Regions from separate parts of the Homo sapiens genome. Here region 1 is linked to region 2. The links are contacts of gene promoters, found by promoter capture Hi-C in human tissues and cell types (Jung and others, 2019). All regions are on one chromosome and are shown on one strand. Each heading gives the region's core, a stretch centred on a gene start or on the middle of the fragment in contact. The rest is flanking DNA. Distances are from core to core; before and after follow the strand shown. Region 1 overlaps CBFB (core-binding factor subunit beta). Region 2 holds the start of CA7 (carbonic anhydrase 7).

Region 1 (5,000 bases), core at 519-3,018, 200 kb before region 2:
GTGTAATTGGTGAATTAAGATGCTGACTTTCGTTTCAATTTTTAACTTCATGTAATATCTTATTTTAATATTTTATAAATAGCTTTTAAAAAAGTGAGTATAGTCTCACTGAGAATATGTGTCAGGAAGAACCAAAAAGCTCAATTCTCTCCCCTGGTCAACTGCCTGAATTTTCTTTTTTTCTTCATATCCAATGTTTTCATACAGAATATTCAGGATGGATATTTTAACCTTGGCCAATACATTTAAGGAAAATAAAAAATGTTTTAGGGGTTTTTTTTGTTATTTGTTTGTTTGGAGATGGAGCCTTGCTCTGTCACCCAGGCTGGAGTGCCGTGGTGCGATCTCTGCTCACTGCAACCTTTGCCTCCCAGGCCCAAGCAACTCTCCCACCCCAGCCTCTCTCAAGTAGCTGGAACCAGAGGCATGCGACACCACGCCTGACCAATTTCTGCATTTTTATTTTTATTTTTTTTGAGATGGAATTTTGTTCCCAGGCTGGAGTGCAGTGGCGCGATCTTGGCTCACTGCACCCTCTGCCTCCCAGGTTCAAGTGATTCTCCTGCCTTAGCCTCCCGAGCAGCTGGGACCAGAGGCACCCACCACCATGCCCAGCCAATTTTTGCATTCCTAGTAGAGACGGGGCTTCACCATGCTGGCCACGCTAGTCTTGAACTCCTAACCCCAGGCGATCCACCCGCCCTGGCCTTCCAGAGCACTGGGACCAAAGGCACGAGCCACGGCACCTGACCCAGTAAAAAAATGGCCAAGAAATGTTCTGGATAGCAAAGGGATGGATAGAAACTCAGGACTAAAAAGCTGGTGTGAATAAATATCCTAAAAAAAAAATTTAAAGGGTTCTCCCAAATGGCTCATTACTTAGAACACTGTTCTGCAAACAGGGCCACACGATTATTAGAAACTATCATTGTTATTATATGGAACAAACTTTGAACATCTATGATATGGGCAGATTTGTTTATTTGAAAACATCTACATTCTTCTAATGTAAATGTCGAAGTCACAAGTTTCTAGGCCATCCTTTTGTTTTAATCTGAAGATTAACCTGTCTTTACATCTGAAGTTTTAAAACACAAAAAGGCTCAGTACTGACTGCATACATGGGTAAAAGGTTTTTCATCCACAAAAACAACCTGCCAACCATCCCCAGACTCAGCCCTTTCCCTCTTAGGTACAGCCTGCATTAGAGTCCTGAAAGCACAGCAATACTGCCAAGAGGCACGTTTTATTTTTTTAAATAGTTTCCACACATGGCATTGAAGACATTTCAAATGGTATTTATTTATTGAGACAGAGTCTTGCTGTGTTGCCCAGGCTACAGTGCAGTGGCATGATCTCAGCTTATGCCTGGCTAATTTTTTTTTTTTTTTAGTAGAGACGGGGTTTCACTATGTTGGCCAAGCTGGTCTTGAACTCCTGACCTTGTGATCTGCCTGCCTTGGCCTCCTAAAGTGCTGGGATTACAGGTATGAGCTACTGCGCCCGGCCCTTCAAATGTTATTTAAAATTCTTAGTTCCTAAACACACATCAATTTGAGGAGGCCCAGCTTAAACTGAAAAGCTTATAACAGATAATACTTTCCAACTGTTCACGTGCATACTTTCATAAAAAAAGGAACAATAATTAAAGTCTACCATATCACTATTATACTTTAGCTTGTCTGTAGCTTCCAATCCTCTGTACAAAACTAAGCATCAAAGAATAATATTGAAGAAACAAAGTCTCTGCACCTGAAGGTAAACAGCATTTTTATGCTGTTAAAAAGAAATTACAAACGTTTTCTTCCCTGTAAGATGAGGATCACAAAAGTATCAGTGCATGTATGTCTGCATCAATTAGAACACTACCTGCAAGGGGGCATGAGGGAACTTTTTGAAGCAATGGTGAACTTTGGTGGTGGTTATACTACTGAATACACAGTTGTCACAGACTTGTACACTTAAAATAGGTGAACTGTACTACATGTAAATTATACCTCAATAATGCTGATTGAAAAACTACAAGTGAAAATGGGAAATAGTAAAACTAGGGCATAGCAGTGCTACAAAGAAATTAACATCTTCAGACAACAACATTTCAATAGTCTTTATCCTGGCAGCATTTGAATTAACCATTAAAAAAAAATGATGGGTACATGCCTGTAATCCCAGCACTTTGAGAGGCCAAGGCGAGAGGATTGCTTGAGTCCAGGAGTTTGAGACCAGCCTGGGCAACATGGTGAGACCCCCATATCTACAAAAAAATTACCTGGGCATGGTGGCGCGTGCCTGTGGTTCCAGCTACTTGGGAGGCTGAGGTGGGAGGATCGCTTGAGCCCAGGAGGCAGAGGTTGCAGTAAGCCAAGATCACACCACTGCACTCCAGCCTGGGTGACAGAGAGATATCTAGTTTCAAAAACAAACAAACAACAACAAAAAAGGCCAGGCACAGTGGCTCAGAGCGCCTATAATCCCAACACTTTGGGAGGCCAAGACAGGCGGATCACCTGAGGTCAGGAGTTTGAGACCAGCCTGGCCAAAATGGTGAAACCCCATCTCCAATAAAAACACAAAAATTAGCCAGGTGTGGTGGCGGGTGCCTGTAATCCCAGCTACTTGGGAGGCTGAGGCAGGAGAATCGCTTGAACCTGGGAGGCGGAGGTTGCAGTGAGCCAAGATTACATCACTGCACTCCAGCCTGGATGACAGAGCAAGACACTGTCTCAAAAAAAAAAAAAAAAATGTAGAAAGTAGAAGGAAGGAGGGGAAGAGTGAAGGATGCTCTTCTCAGACATATTATTTCTGCCTTCTCTCACTTGGAATATGTAATTCAGGAAAGGTCATGAAAGAGAATTTCACCTTTACACTAAAATGGAAATAATGCAATCCAAAAGAAGAGAAAACGGGACTTCACAATCTTCAAGTGCTTCAGAGGTGCATTTACCATGTATGCAGATTCACGTACTCTAACTGGAAGGTACTATGACATACTAATTTTAAAACATTTTAATTTTTTTTTTTTCAGACAGAGTCTTGCTCTGTTGCCCAGGCTGGAGTGTTGTGGTACAATCTCAGCCCACTGCAACCTCCGCCTCCCGGGTTCAAGCAATTCTCCTGCCTCAGTCTCCCAAGTAGCTGGGATTACAGGCACATGCCAGCATACCTGGCTAATTTTTTGTATTTTTAGTAGAGGTGGGGTTTCATCACGTTGGCCAGTCTGGTCTCGAACTCCTGACCTCAGGTGATCCACCTGCCTCGGCCTCCCAAAGTGCTGGGATTACAGGCATGAACCACCCCACCTAGCCAAAACATTTTAATTTTTTCAGAAAGTCGACTTCCTCTCTTAGATTGAAAAATAACTAAAATAACTAAAATAAAAACTTTTCTTTAAAAATACAAACGCTCTGCCAGCTACAAAGGTGTCAAATATATATATATATATAAGCTTGCAGTTACCAGTTCTAAATTTTATGATTCCGTTATTATTAGAGTATTATAGTTTATCTAAAGCATATTTTTAAAAACCAGATTTCAATACACTAAACTGTCAATAACTAAGTGCTGTCAATTCATATTTTAGTCGAACTGAAATACTTAAAATCCAGATGTGACAAGGTATTTGTAAAGTTGTCTAATTTCTCTTGAAGAAAATCACACTCCAAAGCTTTACCATAGAGATCTTTTATTTGGAATGACTGGGCTATCTACAGAGAAGGAACTTCTTGAGCTTAAATAGGGATTTCTCAAAGCTAACATCAAGAAGTCCTGTAAACTCTGCCAAATTGTGGATGGTATATAAACAAACACAATATGTATTTTGGGACAAAGATCCTGCAGGCAAGTGCGTAAATGGTACCAGAAGAAGCAGAATCATAGACCTTTATTAGAAAAGGCCATTTAAAATAAAATTCTGTCCTCACTCATTAAATCCAATCTTGTTAGATTTTGCTTTATTTTATGCTCATAAAAATAAATTAAAAGACTTTTAAGTATAAAGTCCAGAAAGAAAAAAAATACAACTTATCAAAATTTTTAAAAGTAGCTACTCTAATGACATATACTTAATAAATACTTCTCGATGTCTGACATTAATGTATTTGACTATCAATTAAAATCATAAGCTATAAACAAGAATGTAACAACCATAGAAAAGTTTAACCTCTCTTTTTCTGAGGTCAATGTGGTAAAAACGAGATAGCATATTCAATTTCCACAGAAAAAAATGAACAGTAGCACTGTAAAGTTCATTTTTTTCCTTTTATGAAATGATTTTCATACCCCTTATCTTTAAAGTCATAAACTGGGATCGCAAAGTAAGTACATCCAATCATTATTTCAAAATCCCAATGAAGCTTTATGAGACACAGAATACATGTAAAAACCATTAATCTGACCACTCAAGACTAATAATTTATGGTCAACCATAATCACTTGCATTTATTTGAAATAAAAGTAATTGGAAATAAGTCCTAAGAGGAAAGATCAAAGGAACTGGAGTTGCCTGGTCTACACAATTTTAACTTAAGAATGATTTAAATTCTGATTAGTTGCTTTTCCCTTGTCTTTTGACAGCTAGATTAAAGAATTAAGAACATTTTGGCTGCCAGTGTTTGTAACACACCAGGATGGAACACTTGGGAAAGATGTAGTGTTCCAACATTGTTCAACTACCTGACGTGAAGCTTACCTAAGGCACACTGTAGCACAAACACTCTATCAATCAGTTAGCTATAATCTCACCCTACAGAACCATCAAATTGCCTAACTGTAGACAGGGGTTTACAATTTAAAAGGCATTTTCACATATTCTGGTACTACATTTAATTCTCACATGAGGCACATGAATAGGGCAGACATTCTGATCCTCATTTACATGTTAAGGAAAATAGTTATGACTGTCTTGACTCAAATCTAGAGCTCTTTCTATTATACTGTTATTAGTTTAAATCATTTCTGAGAAAGATCCTTATTAAGAGCCAATGTAGACAGCTCACCAGGTA
Region 2 (4,857 bases), core at 1,496-3,995:
TGCAGGCCTCATAGGAAAGCTCCAGTGGTTGCAGGCTGGGAGAGTACACAGCCTGGCTGGAGATGATATTGATGGGTGATTGGCGATCTCCCTGGGCAATGGGATACAGCTTGTGCCAATGCGAGGGGCCTGCAGGTGGGGAGGAGGGCAAGGACTCAGGCCAGCCAGGATCTCTGGGCTTCAGGCCGAGGACACCCATAGGGGAATGGTCTCTTCAGCATCCTTTCAGAGGTGAGCCCCTGCATTGGAGCTGCACAGCTTGGAGTTCCAATCCCAGCTTTGCCATTTCCCCTTTCAGCCTCCATTTCTTTGTCTGTGAAATGGTCTCACTAAAACTCACCTTCCAGTGCTGATAGGAGGCCCAGAGAGGTACTGTATGGAAGGGAACATAACAGCTACAGGCTCGGGGTGGCTCAGAGTAATAAGTCTCCCCAACAGGGAGACCTCCAGACATCTGAAGTCTCTGACCTGACCCCATCAGTATCTCACCTCTTTCTGTGCCTTGGGCAATTTGGTGTTGGTGTTTGTGATAAATAACAACAAAAACTCACATCAACCTAGCTTTGACTCTGTGACATGTATTTGCCTCTCACAACCACCTTGTGAAATAGAAACCAGCAAGATCCCCATTTCACAGATGAGGGAACTGAGGGCCACTCACACATGTGTGCATGCATATGTACTAATATAAATACAGCATGTGCATGCACTGCCCCCAGCTGCCCTCCCAATGTGTGTGCCTGCAAGTCCATAGAGATCTTCCTATGAACACATTAATCTTTCTATGATCTTCCATTGTGCACACAGAGCAGCCAGGCCCAGAACATTCATGTGTACAAACACACACACAGCCCTGCAGACTACATCTGACACACGCATATGCTCTCTCACACACAAACCCCTCTGTTGGAGACCCAAGTTTGCATAAAGGACCACAGCAAAACACATGCCCATGCACACACACACACACACACACACACACACCTGCATACACACCCACAGGCGCCCACCACCTGCCTCCCAGAGGATCCATCTGCAGCCGAGAGGCTCAGCATCTCCCTGGGGAACATCCTGAGATGCAGCCTATTTTTAGAGCTACTGCCGGCTGGTGCTTCTCCCCCTTTTTGGCTTCTTAAGTTTTCCTGAGAAAACAGCAGCAGGTGCCGACAGAGCCGTGTCCCCAATGGATGACTCAGAATCGTGGCCCGGCCCCTCTGGGTTATTTTTGAAGCCCTGTGAACACTGCTGCATGCCGGCACCTCTGTCCTCTGTCCTTCCCTTCCTCGACTGGACAATCCAGCTCTGCCTGGGTGATGGGGTGGCTGCTTTGGGGGAGCAGGCCCATGGAGCAGGCTACACAGGACACTGGGTGCTCAGAGCTGGTGGGCATGACTAGCAAGAAGAGCTGGAGGCAGGGGACTCTGGCTCTGGGGGAAGCACCCAAAAGGTGGCTCAGAGCAGGTGCTGGGAGAAGATGATCCCTATGGGTCCTGTCCATCTGCCCCATGTCTGCCTGTCTCTCCCTCTCTGCTTGTCTATATCATCTTTTTCTGAATGTCTCTTTCCAGCTCTTGCATACCCAGATCTGGGGGTTCTCTTCCAAAATATGCTCCTTTGTTCTTGGGGCCCCAGAGGGAGCCAAAGACTCCACAGCACCCTCCCTCTGGTCTACTGCAACTTTCTGGCTTCCCAGACTGTGGTCCCCCACCCAACCTCACAAAGTGACTGCCTCTCCGCAGAGGAGTGGGGCTGGGGGATGTTCCTCCCATCATTACTTTTTCTTCTCCGCACCCCACCTGTCTTGCACTGGCTCCCCAGGGAAATAGGGAACCCCTTACCCCACACCCCCACCCCTGCTTGGTAAGAAATGGCCCCAAAGGGAATTGACTGCCCCAGACCCACACTCCAGCCGTCTGGCTCTCACCTTCTGCCTCTTCTCCCTTTCTCTGAGTCCTAAGGAAACTGAGGCAGGATGAAGGAGCTCTCTTCCGCGTCAGCCCAGGAGGCTGGTGTGGGCCACGGGCTCCCACGACTCACACCCGGACGTGCGCAAACACCCTGCTCGGTGTAGACACCCAGACACATGCTTGCGCCCCCAAGTGCCCCCTTCCCTCACGTACCGGCCGAGAAGGCAGCTCGGCCACTTCTGCGGGGAAATTCTCTCCGGGGGACACTGCGCCCTTGCCACGCGGAGCCCCGCTCCCCCGAGGTCCCCGCTCACTTGCCGTGCGCGCTCCCCGCAGACACCCGCGCACAGCGCTCCGCGGCGCCCGCCCCCCGCTGCCCTGGGCCACCCCCACGCGCTGCGCACGCCCGGGGCGAGTGAGTGAGAGTCTGGGCCTGGGTCTGAGCGGGCTGGGCAATCAGGGGCTTCGCGGAGGAGGCGGCAGGACACAGCCGCCAGGTCGCTTGCTGGCGGCGGGGCCACCCGGGGCGCAGCGCGGACTTTGCGTCTGGCGCGGGGGACCAAGGCTTGGGCCAAGTTCGGGGGCCGGGATGGGAAGAGGGGTCCCGCCCAGCCTGGAGTGTGGGAGCTTTCCGGTCTGGGAAACCAGCTGGGCAAGAGGGTTGGGGCGAGTGCAGTTGGGTCGGGGGTCCGAGCCAGAGGCGGTGGGGGAGGTCTGTGCCTACCGTCGTCCTGGCCGTAGCCCCAGCCGTGGTGGCCGGTCATGCCGCTGCCGTCCCCGCAGCCGTGCACCTGCCCGGTCGGCTCGGTCCGCTCGTTCGGGCTGCGGCTCCGGCCCCGCTCGCTACCGCGGAGCAGCCTCTTAAAGCAGCGGCTGGCGGGAGGAGCAGTTCCCGGGGGACCCGCCCCCCACCCCCCAGCAGGGCCAGAGAGGCCGGCCTGCCCCGCCCTCGCCCGCCGGCGAGCCAGTTGAACCCCGAGCGGAGATTCAGGGCAGGAGGAAGTAACCCTCTCCCCCCAACTCCCACCCCTGCCCTGGCTGGGCGACTATCCCTCTTTTTCCCCCAGCAACCCGTGCGGACTCTGGGACACTAGATGCCCGTGCCGCACATGGCGTCCCTTCCCTAGGCTTGCCCCAGACCTGCAAATGCCACCACCAGAGACCTGAGCTCTGGGTCCTGAATCTTTTGGGGTTGGAAAGTCCCCTTTAAACTGCAAACTACACTGACCATCAAGTGTCCAAAACTGGAGCTTCCACTGTTTGCCAGAGGCTGTTGCAGGCGCTGGACCAAGCTTTGGGTCCTTCCTATGGTATAACCCTCTCTGTTACCCTACAAGGTTGGGTGCTTCCATCAGCCCTATCTGACAGAGGAGGGGAGTGAGGCCCAGAGAAGTGAAGTGACTTGCCCAAGGTCATCTAGCCAGGGGGTAAAGGGTTCATTAGCTGGGGTTCTTACTCCAGACACTGGGGGTTTTGTGGGATTTGTTTGTTTGTTTGTTTGTTTGCTTGTTTGTTTTTAGACAGAGTCTTGCTCTGTCACCCAGGCTGGTGCTATATCAGCTCACTGCAACCTCCACCTCCTTGATTCAAGTGATTCTTCTGCTTCAGCCTTCCAAGTAGCTGGGATTACAGGTGTGTGCCACCACATCCAGCTAATTTTTGTGTTTTTTGTAGAGATGGGGGTTTCACCATGTTGCCTGGGCTGGTCTTGAACTTCTGGCCTCAAGTAATCCACCCGCCTTGGCCTCCCAAAGTGTTGGGATTAGAGGAGTGAGCCACCACTCCTGGCCTGACACTGGGGTCTTTACCATTTCTCCTTGGTGCTGGGTACAAGGGTGTGCTGTGAGTGTGGGGGTCCGGGAACCCTGGGGTAGATGCAGGGACAGGAATGGCAATGTGAACCCTTGGCCCAGGTGGAACCAGATCCCCCAAGGGGGAGTGAGAAGGAGTGGCATCAACCAATGGGCCTGAAGACAGGCAGACACCAGGTGGCTTCCCCATGGAGCTAAGTCTGAGGCTCTGACTTCCACCCTCCCTGTTATTTTGTCTACTGCTTCCTCCTTTCTTCAGGGACTCTGCTTTGTCCCTCCATAGCCTGCTGTTTGTCCCTCCTCTCCTGACCTCCCCATAACCTTCAGTACACCCCCTGGGAGCTCAGACCCTCCACCCTGCACTCAACCCCAGTGCCTGCCTTGGCCCAGTATTTTCCCACCCACGAGCCCTGGTCGTTGTTGTGCCCTCCACCTGGTGCGTCCTCTGTCTTCCACCCACTGGCTCCAGCCGGCCCAATCTGATTCATCTTAGCACGTGGCCTTGTGCCAGGGAGAGGGCTTGTCTCTGGCTAGTCCTCAGCAGGCAGTTTTGGAAAGACAAACAGAGGGGTGGATGGAAGGACAGATAAATGATCCCACCCGGGGTCCTGTACTCAGCAGGAGTCGAACAGCCACTAGTACAATGTCTGCTGTCCAGATCTTGAATAGAGACACTCTTTCAGGCCCTGCTCTTGGCTGACCTTGTACAGGAATCTGCCATCTTGTCTGCCTGGCTCCCCTTCATCTCTGTGTCTGTCTCAGTTTCCCTCTCCCAGGCCCTGAACCCCAGATCCTCAGATAGAGCTATGGAGATTAATTGATAACTGGTTGGGTGGGCCAATGTCAGTGACTGCCCAGGCCTGCGAAGATGGCCCTCTCTGATCCAGGAGCAGGAAGGGATCCTTAATATAAATATGACCCTAGGGTGGGGCAGGGGACTTATGACAGAGATAAGTAGCCCCCAAGACCAGATGTGACAGAGAATCCAACACTGTCAAGGCCCCAGGTCTCCAAGCTGGAAATGGCATCTACAGATCAAGAAGACAAAGGCATGCTTCTGGGTGAGGCCTGGACCTTCTGTCTCCCAGAGAAGCCAGCCACCCTTTACCTGGGAGAGCTGCCAACATCCTTTACCTGGG

What was found. Contacts are between HindIII fragments. The study calls those that stand out against the background at their distance.
Region 1: a contact is called between a fragment that was not itself captured here and the fragment with the promoter of CA7 in region 2, in 5 of the 25 tissues and cell types used here (adrenal gland, dorsolateral prefrontal cortex, heart left ventricle and 2 more).

What each region holds. Positions count from the first base shown.
Region 1 is chr16:67,043,539-67,048,538 of GRCh38, reverse strand. All of the region lies in intron 3 of CBFB (core-binding factor subunit beta), which reads right to left. Among named protein-coding and RNA genes, the nearest start is that of CBFB, 17 kb to the right of the region's middle. The HindIII fragment of the contact is 7,078 bases long and covers 1-5,000 here.
Region 2 is chr16:66,842,302-66,847,158 of GRCh38, reverse strand. It overlaps CA7 (carbonic anhydrase 7), which reads right to left and starts at 2,745. Exons shown (of 7, transcript NM_005182.3): 1 at 2,632-2,745; 2 at 1-129. The coding sequence starts at 2,671. The region is part of intron 3 of LOC124903699 (a long non-coding RNA gene); the gene reads left to right. RefSeq lists an enhancer at 2,316-2,817. The HindIII fragment of the contact is 13,624 bases long and covers 1-4,857 here.